Linked DNA regions of Homo sapiens: region 2 is linked to region 1. Evidence: promoter capture Hi-C in 16 types of primary human blood cells and fetal thymus (Javierre and others, 2016). All regions are on one chromosome and are shown on one strand. The core of a region is centred on a gene start or on the middle of the fragment in contact, and the rest is flanking DNA. Distances in the headings are between cores, read along the strand shown.

Region 1 (4,443 bases), core at 801-3,300:
AATTCAGTCATTCCACTGGGTTCCAAATTGATATGTGCCCAGTATGTGCCAGGGATGTGAACACTGCTGGGGGTTCACTGCCGGGTTTTACTGAATATGAACGAGGGCTGTGGTTTCAGGCTGTCCTGAGTTCCAGCCCTGACTCTGTAACTTCCTGGCTGTGTGACCTTCAGCAACCACCCTAGCCTCTCTGTGCCTCACTTTCTTCATCTGTAAATGGGGATGATAGGAATAGGACATAATTCCTAGGATTATCTTGGGGATTCAATGAGATCATTTTTTGGCACATACTAAGAAATGAACACAGTAGCATTTTTTTTCTTGTTTATTTTTCTCCACTGCACTTATCAGAAGCTGATATTTTTATTTGCATCTTTGCTTACCATCTGACTGACTAAATGACTCTCCATAGAAAAAAGCCTTGTCTGTCTTGATCACCCCTGCTTCCCTGTCTAGAACAATGCCTGGCACAGAGTGGGTACTCCATAAATATTTGTCTGCTGAATGAATTGCTGTCTTTCATATTTCTACCCTAAATGCCATTCCGATGATGCACCCTGCCCTGGAGTAGCCCAAAGTCCTGTGGACTCCAGCAAGAGCCCCCCCTGACCTCCATAGCCAGATGTTCACAGCAGCGCTGGGCACCAACTCCGAATGTCACCAACTGGGCTCATTGCCTTGGCCTGACAAATGGCACTTATGTGACTTCTGGTGGACAGAGCTGTAGCAGGGGAAAGTGAGTTAGTGCCTGAGGAAAGTGGATCGATAGGCTGAGTTCTGAAACTCAAGGGCCCTGCACCAGTAGCGAGGGGGCCCAAGTAAGGGGACATGGAGCCCGCACCCTGAGGACATTGCTTTGGAAGAGGATGCCTGGGTGGTGCAATTACCTCGTGGCATACTGAGATGGGGATTCGTGCATCCTGCACGCCTTGGGAAACAAAATGAATTTCTCGGAGAGAGGGGGCTTTGCAAAATGTAAAGCGCTGCAGGAAGCAACGTACATGGAAAGGTCAGGAAAGAGAGCCGATCTGTTTGCTGAGTGTGGGCTGTACTTCCAAACCCAGCCAAAGTCGACGCGCAGCCCCTGGAGGTGGCACAGTTTGGGGGCCCCTTGGATAGGAGTGCCCTCGGGGAGGCTGGGAAGCCAGAGAGGAATGGGCCAAAGTTTCTTCGGGTGTCTGCAGAACCCAGGACCGCCCGCGCAGCTTGCATCTTCTCTTCCCGCCCCCGGCCTGCACGCGTGAAATCTGCAAATTCCCCTTTTAACTGCTGCACGCGCTCGTTCAACTTTGCCCTGGCTAGAATCGGGATAACCGTCCCGATGATTACATAACTTTCCGAGTTCAGGGAAGATAAATCCAAGGGACAGAAATGATAAAATTTTCTTTGAGTATGGATTTTTTACCCCTAAAGTTACAGAAGTGCACAAAAAATATATATACAAATACCCATATACCCACCACTCACAATGAGTTAACTGTTACATTTTGACTTATCTGAAAGAGGGTTTTTTCTTTTTAGTTACCAAATAAACCTTTCTCTTGTCCCAAGTTCCAGTATATCTGAATCCAAAATAAGTCAACCTTCTTTTCTTTATTATTCTTTTCCATCCTCACCCCAGATTTATCTTAAAGGGTAAGTTCCAGGACCCCCGAAATCCCTCGGTGAGCTCCCACCTGTCCAGGTCTGCAAACATCTAGACTCAATGCACAAGATCCGGCGATGGCCGCAACCGGCGGTGTGCACAGCTGCATTTCCTCCCCCAGCCCCAACTCCCGCGTGCAACTTTGCAACTCTCGCTCGGGCCCGGCATTGGGGGCGGGCCTATTTACTCGGCCCGTTTGGCGGAAGGATCCCATGCGGGGACGCGGTTGCGCTCAGCCATCTGCGCCCCGCCCAGCGCCCGGGCCCCGCCCCCTCCAGCGCCCGGGCCCCGCCCCCTCCCGCGCCCCCTATGGCCCATAAAGAAGTCCCGGCCGGGCCGCTGCACTCCCCGCGCGCATCCGTGCGCCGCCCGAGGCTGTCTAAGGAGTCGGCGGCCATTTTGTTCTTCTCGTGGTTCCAGTGGGGAGAGAAGGAGGAAGTAGGGAGCGGGGTGGCAGGGGGGGGACCCGCCGCGGCTGCTGCCACCGCCGCCACCACCGCCTCTGCTCGTGGCGTGGGAAAGGAGGTGTGAGTCCCGGGCGCGAGCCGGCGGCGGCGCCGCTGCGGGAGGGTCGGCGGTGGGAAGGCGATGGCGGATTTAGATAAACTCAACATCGACAGCATTATCCAACGGCTGCTGGAAGGTAAGGGGGGCGGCGGGCGGCTGAAGGGGGAGGCGGGCCTGAGGGCGGCAGGCGGCCCCGGGGGCTCGAGGGAGGGGAGTTGGGAGGCCGGTTGGGCTTGCAGCACCGTGGGGAGTGAGCTCCTCGAGTTGGCCCACGGGCCGGGGACTGCAGCCGGAGGGAGGCCAGCCCGGGATTCCCAACTTGTCGCCAGCTGCGGACCCTCCAGGCTCCGCTCATTCATTGCACGAGGATGCAGGCTTCCTCCCGGCCGTGGAATTTGAAAACTCCGCTCCCCACCCCCACGTTTCCCGCCCCTACCCGTTTGCCCCCGCGCACTGGACGGGTCTTTGGAGCGATGGTTGGGGATCCCAGTCCAGCCTCCTGGACGACGTGTGCCGTGCTGTGCGAGATGGACTTTTCGGTGCTCGTCCTCTCGGAAGGCAGTTTGATGAGGGCATGAGTTCCGCCGGGTTTGGGGGCTCTTTTCCTGCTTGCTTTTATTTTTATTTTTCGTGGTTCTGGGGTCTTGGGGGGCCCATTTCTTGTTACTTGGTAACAAGCGTTCATGTCTCAAGAGGTGTGAGAACCTGTCTTCGCCTGCCCTCCAAATCCTTTTAAGTTGTTCTAATCTTGGAGAGGTCTCCGCGCTCTTTTCCTGAGCGTGCATCTGAAGAGGAAGCCAACGAGGCTGACGCTATCATTATCTTTCCAATGTGCCAGGCTCTGTCTTAAGCACTTTGCGTCCATGAATTATTACTGTAATCATAACTGACGCTTCTAAAGCGCTTACTGTGTGTCAGGCATTCTTTGAGCACTTAAGACAGATTTCATTTAATTCTCCCACCCATTGCAAGATATTTGCAATTTTTTTTGTTTTTGTTATTTTACAGAAGAAACTGAGATGAAGTCACTTAACCAAGGTCACACAGTTAGTGACAGTTGGATTTCAAATCCACATAGCCGGGAGCTAGAACCCTCTACAGACAACACTGTCACCTTATGTAGGAAGGAAGGTGGCCAGTGGTTAAGTAAAGGTTAATAGAAAGCTTTAAATTTCGGCTCATCTAAGACTTGTGAGGTGCCTGGCAATTGATTCATGTTGATGTGGGAGAGGGGCGAGGTTCAGCTTTTAAAGACGGAAGCTGAAATGAGCTGCTTTCAGATTCAAGGGCATGTCAACGGATGCTAACATCTTATCCAAGACTTTGTAAGAATTCAGTCATATCCCCTAACTTGGACACTTCATAATGGGAACTTGGCAGTTTCAACTGCTTTTTGCCTTTATACAGTCCTAAAATATTGTTGGACTATAAATGCTGTGAGTGGTGGAGTCGAGGGCATGAACAGTTGGACAGCTCTGGTGTTAGAATTTACAGATCTTTTAAAGTAAGTTATTAAAATGAAGCTCCTGAAAATATCTCGTCCTTTTCTTAATCTGTGCATTCTTTCCTTTTATGCTGTCTTTAAAAAAAAAACAACAAAAAAAACACTAAATGTCATTAAGGACCCCTGAAATGCTCTTGAAATGTTATTGCAGGTGAAAACCTTGTATTGTAGGTGAAAACCTTGTCATTCTTTTAATGCCAGGTATTTATATAAGAACCATACTTTTTCATACTAGTTAATATAGTTCTTTAATTTATTCGAGGCAGCAGTTGGTCAGAAACTGATTAAAATAGTTTGCTGTAAGAAAGGAACTTTTTGTTAAATATTTTCTTTCTAAATTTTAAAATTCTGCTTATCTCTGCAGGGATATGTGTGGCTTTATTTCTCTGAGGAAACAGGAAAAGTTGGAATTTGCATGGATTAGAAACATTAGAATTTTAAGATCATCTAAGGCTTGCTAATTTAAGTTCTGGTTTGCCCATAACTGCCTCTATTCATAAACAGCTTTTGTTAATTTTGATCTTTAAAATTGTAATAAGTACTTTGCCTGGTAAGTAATGATACATCTAAAATGAGATCATTGTTTCTTAATAGTTCCTCTTGTTATGTGGCACTTGAAAACCAGGTTTTCTTATATTTCATTTTTTGCTGAAATTAATAAAGCAGTGCATTTTAATGCCTTGGGAATAGGCTAACTGCAAAGTATACTTAAATTTCTTTTTTTCTCGTGGGTGTTAAATTGGCAGAGAAACAGTTGAAGATGATCCATTGAGGATATGTAGATATC
Region 2 (4,695 bases), core at 1,253-3,752, 1.0 Mb after region 1:
ACCTTTTCCTAGAAATGTGATCACAGCAGTTTCACCAGCACCCGACACTGGCAATAATTGCTGGAAGGGACCTAGACGAATCCCAGAGCCAGCAGCAGGATGCTTGCTGGGGGTTCTCTGGGCCTTTGCAGGGAAGCGTGCCAGTACTGGGGTGTGTGTTGGTTGGGGGTGCCCTGACAGAGACACAGTTTATTCAGACCTTGGCACTGATGGGCCTCACTTGCCCGCCATTCACTTAAGCAGCCTCACAATATGCTCGTTGAAATCCTCTTAAACACCAGAAGGAGCAGGGGGCAATCAGGAGTTCCAGGTTGGCCAAGGCCCCTGACCTTGGGGTAGAACAGCATGGGGAGCCCCTGGACTAGGGGTGCAGCAGGCAGCAGCTCCTCTGCACCTTCCTTGGCTGGGGGAGGGGCACCCACATTTTCCCCAGCAGAAGTAGCCTATTGGAGGGCCGGAGGCCCACATCTCTCTGGGGACCCTGGGAACTTCAGCCTGCCAGCTGGGTACATGGTGGGGTTCAGGGAGGTCTCTTCTATAGCATCTCTTTTCAAAACAGAAAGTTGCTCTGTCTGGGAGGCCTGAGCCCCGAGGCACAGGCCAGGCTACATGGGCAAAGCTCTGAACACCTGTCCTTGCGGGGAGGAGCATCAACAGGGACAGCTGGCACTGCCTCCCTCCCCCACCTTATGGGGCGCTAAGGATTTAGGTCAGAGGACTGCAATGGTAGGGGTGGGGGGAGTCCGCCTTCACCCCTCCACTACCCAAAGGCATCCAGCCCCGCCCCTTGTTACCACGACCCCGCCCCCTCCGGCCTTGGGTCAAGGCAAGTGGTGTTGCCACGGCAACCCCAGTGACATCAGAGGCTAAGGTTTGACGTCATGTCGTGCCCCCACTGGGGAACCTACCGTCCCTGCGAGTTATTTGTGGGAACGTGGTTTGAACGAGGGCTCTAAGGTCTAGCCCCATGGGGCACAATTCTCAAACGTGGCCACCTGCGTTTCTGGAACCCCAAATCCCCCTCTGAGGTGATTTCCCTTGAAGATCTCAGAGGCTGCTCGGGAGACCCTCAACGTTTTCCCATCCTGGGTGCCCCCCACCCCCCAGCCCTTCCAAGACACTGGAGTTCCCGGGGAATTTTCGGATGACACAGCCAATACCTTTGTTAGCTTTACGGGTGGGGTGACCTTTCCTCTCTGGCAACCAACCCGCCCAGGGTCCCGCGGAATCCGAATGGGCCCCCCAACCTCCACTCCCATCGGCTGGCCCATCTGAACAAGTTGTGTTTGGAGGGAGGAAAGGGGCGGACAAGGGTTATCTCTGCTTCAGGACCCCCAACAGCCTAGGACCCCTTCTGTCCAATCCTGGCTGCCCGGACGCCAGGGGGTGCCCCCAGCTCCAGCGCAGAACCCCGCCCCGCACAACTCACCGGATCAGCCAGGCCGTCGAAGGGCACCAGGTCTCAGCTACCACGACGCTCCGCTCGACGGGTCGCAGCCATGCAGGAGTGGCAGAGGCTGCCTGACGAAGCCCTCCTTGGGGGTCGATGCCTCTCTCCGGGTGGGAAGGGGCGCTGTCGGTGAGGGCTATCCTGGCGCCGGCCTGCGCCGTCCGAAGTCGGGGGGGAGGGGAGGTCTCCGTTCAGCAGGGGTCACGCCCGCCCCGGACGGGGGCCGCGCGGGCGCTCAGGCGACGCATCTTCGCCGGGGCCCGTGATCGCCACGTCCGGCGGGCGGCGCTGCGCCTCCCCTCGGGGCCCCGCTCAAGGCTGCAGCTCGGCCCGCGCCGCTCCCAGGGCGCCCTCTCCGCCCGCGCTGGGAGCCCGGCGGCCGCGGCCCCTTTCGCCAGCCCCAGCTGCAGCCTGTCTTTGTTGCTTCCTCTCGCTCGCCCGCCCGCCCGCGGCTTGCAGCCCCCGGGTTCGCCCCGAGGTGGAGGGATTGTCTCCTTCGGGGGTTGCACGCACCCGCAGCGGCCCCGGCTCCTCGCCGGACATACACCGGCCCCTGCAGGTTGCAAAGAACAGCGGCGAGAATGCACCGGCCCCTCCTCCTCCTGCTCTGAGCCCCGGGTGTGGGGGGAGGGGAAGCCGGCGAACAGCGGCGGCGGCAGCGGCGGCGGCGGCGGCAGCGGGCGACGCAAGCTCGGATGCAGCCTCGGGGGCCTCGGCGCTGAGAAACAGCCGATCCCAGTGGCGCAGGACGGACACGAGGACGGCCCGGGGGACTGTGCACCGGGTGTGCGAGCTCGCAAGCCGCAGCAGGGGCCGCGCGCGCTGGGCTCTCACGCGCCCATGGCCCCGGGCGGCGCGCGGGGGCTCCCGGGGCCGCAGCCTCGCGCCGTCTGGCGCGCGCCGGCGCCTCGCCTGGTCTCAGGCCCGGGTGCCGCGCGCCGCGCCCCACAGGCGCCGGGCCCGGCTGTCCGCCTCCCCCGGCCGGCGCGCGCAGCCTCTCCGCGGAGCAGCCGGCCAGGCAGTCCTGCCCGCTGCTCCGCTCTGGCCCGACTGACAGGCGCGAGCGCCGGCAGCAGCCCCCGCGTCTCGTCCCCCGCCCGCCCCCCGCGGCCCAGCCCAATCAGCGGCGGCTGAGAGGCGGTTACCAGGGTGACGCGGCACCGCGTCCTGCGAGGGGCGGAGCCGGGGGCCGCCACGCGCGCTTTTCGCGGCAAAATTCAAAGGCCGGCAGGGCGGCTCTCCAACCTCCTCCCCCAAGCAGGGACGAGGCGGAACTTGCCTCGCGAGGACTGCAACTCCCGGCATGCTGCGCGCCGGCGCCGGGTGGAGGGGCCCCGACTGGGGGCGCAGGGCGTGCTGGTTTTTGTAGTCCCACTAGGGGTGGCAAAACCAGTGTCATTTACTGATCACATATTTGGGACAAGGCACTGTATAAGTGCATTATCGGCATTATTTCATTTAATCTTGGCAAAAACCAACCTCATGAGGAATTTGTTAAAAATAACAACTATAGCTAACACTTATGTAGCAAAGTATTTTATCTAATCCTCACAACACCGTGTGAGTGGGTATTACTATCACCCCCATTTTACAGATGAGAAAACTGATACGGTAGGTACTATTATTATACTTCCAACTTACAGAGGAAACTGAGGTAAGGAGATGTGAAGTGACATGGTCCTGGATGTTTTTGTCCTAAGGCTTATTTTTGGCAGCGATGTGTTTTTGGCATCACAGTTGTGATCTGTGGAGCGCTAACTATATAACCCAGCACAGCGCTGAGCAATTTGCAAGCTACACCTTCTAGACGTACCCCACGCCCACAGGAGACAGGCACTAGCCTACTCCCCCACTTAATAGATAGGGAAACTGAGGCATAGTTTCACATCAACCTGGGGTTCAAATATGAATCTATCAAACTATACTGTGCTTTCCCTTTTACTTTTAAAGAAGCTTCCTGGGTTCTCACAGCCCATGGGCGGCCCGTCTAGCAGTCTCATTTACAGATGGGGAAATTGAGTCCTGGGTGGGGCAGTTCCCTCAGTTGCTGTGTGTCCATCACACAGCACTGTAGGAAGCCAGCTTTCCGGGATAATAACAAAGATCCCCACAGAAATGCAGAGCAGCAGTCAGACCCCCCACCCCTCAGGCTATGCCCGTGTGATACCTGGAGTCCCACCGAAACTGGGTGGGATTGCAGCCCTGCCCTTGCTGGTTGTTGGTCTTGGCCATTTACCTTCACGGGTCTGCGCCTCAGTTTCTTGTCTGTGAAATGGGGGGCATCATAATTCCTACCTTACAGCGTAGATTTGAGGGCAAAATGAATTCTTGCATGTAAAGGACTCAAAACACACATTAAGTGCTCAATAAATGCCCTCTGTACTCACCCGGGCTGGAGGGCTTTGGAGACCCTGGGGAGCGTATCCAGCGGACGGGCTGATTATAGACGGGCCCTAGCCTACTTCCAGGAGCCAACCCACCCCGCCGGGAGAGGCGCCCGCGGCGGACCTCCAGGGCCGGCCCAAGTGGGTCACCCGCCGCCTTATCTAGGACAGGAGCTGGCCCTGTTTCAGGCCTCTAAGCGGCTGCTCGGCGCGCTGTTCCCAGCAGCTCCGCTCTATTTCTCCGCGGCCGCCCCCATCTCCTCCCCTTCCCTCCCCAGGCTGAAGGTGGGGGTGGGGATTTACCTGGAAATGTGTTATGCCTCCAGCTGCTTCCCGCTCGGGCCAGCAGCCAGGGCTGCGGGGACGTCAGGGAGGGCGGCCGGGGCGACTGGATGGGTGGACCCAGCGTGTGGACAGGTGGGGAGACCAGACTTCAGCTGAGGACAGGGCGAGGGACAGTAACAAGCAAACCCTGGGAAATGAGAGAGATCGCGAAGAGGAGAAGAAGGCAGCAGTTCGCACCACAGCCTGTCAAAAGTTTGGGATTTTTTTCATTGTAGGTCACCATGACTTCACACCTACTGTGTGTCAGGCATGGGCTCACTGCTATTTATCTCACATAACTCCTTTTACCCTCGCAGAAACCCTATAAGGTATATACGATCACTATGCACATCCTACAGCAGAGGAAGGCCACATGACTTACCCAAGGTCACACAAATGACAGAACCAAAGTCCAGAGCCCTGACGTTGATTTATTGCACCTTGTGGCAGCCACTGTCTGACCGTGTGCAACCTTGAGGGGAGTTTCTTCTCTTCTCTGGACCTCAGTTTCCCCTGCCATGAAATGGAGGGTAGGAC

The links. The method cuts DNA at HindIII sites, captures the fragments that hold promoters and counts their contacts. A CHiCAGO score of 5 or more calls a contact.
Region 2: the fragment with the promoter of FAM222A here is called in contact with the fragment with the promoter of PPP1CC in region 1 in 1 of 17 cell types (fetal thymus); the score reaches 5.1 in fetal thymus.

The regions. Positions count from the first base shown.
Region 1 is chr12:110,740,498-110,744,940 of GRCh38, reverse strand. It overlaps PPP1CC (protein phosphatase 1 catalytic subunit gamma), which reads left to right and starts at 2,050. Exons shown (of 7, transcript NM_002710.4): 1 at 2,050-2,288. The coding sequence starts at 2,234. RefSeq lists enhancers at 471-1,055, 1,817-2,325 and silencers at 1,820-1,959, 2,120-2,179. The HindIII fragment of the contact is 5,862 bases long and covers 1-3,318 here.
Region 2 is chr12:109,711,632-109,716,326 of GRCh38, reverse strand. FAM222A (family with sequence similarity 222 member A) reads right to left here and starts at 2,502. Exons shown (of 3, transcript NM_032829.3): 1 at 1,430-2,502. RefSeq lists silencers at 2,362-2,411, 2,442-2,771 and an enhancer at 3,477-4,040. The HindIII fragment of the contact is 3,633 bases long and covers 1-3,405 here.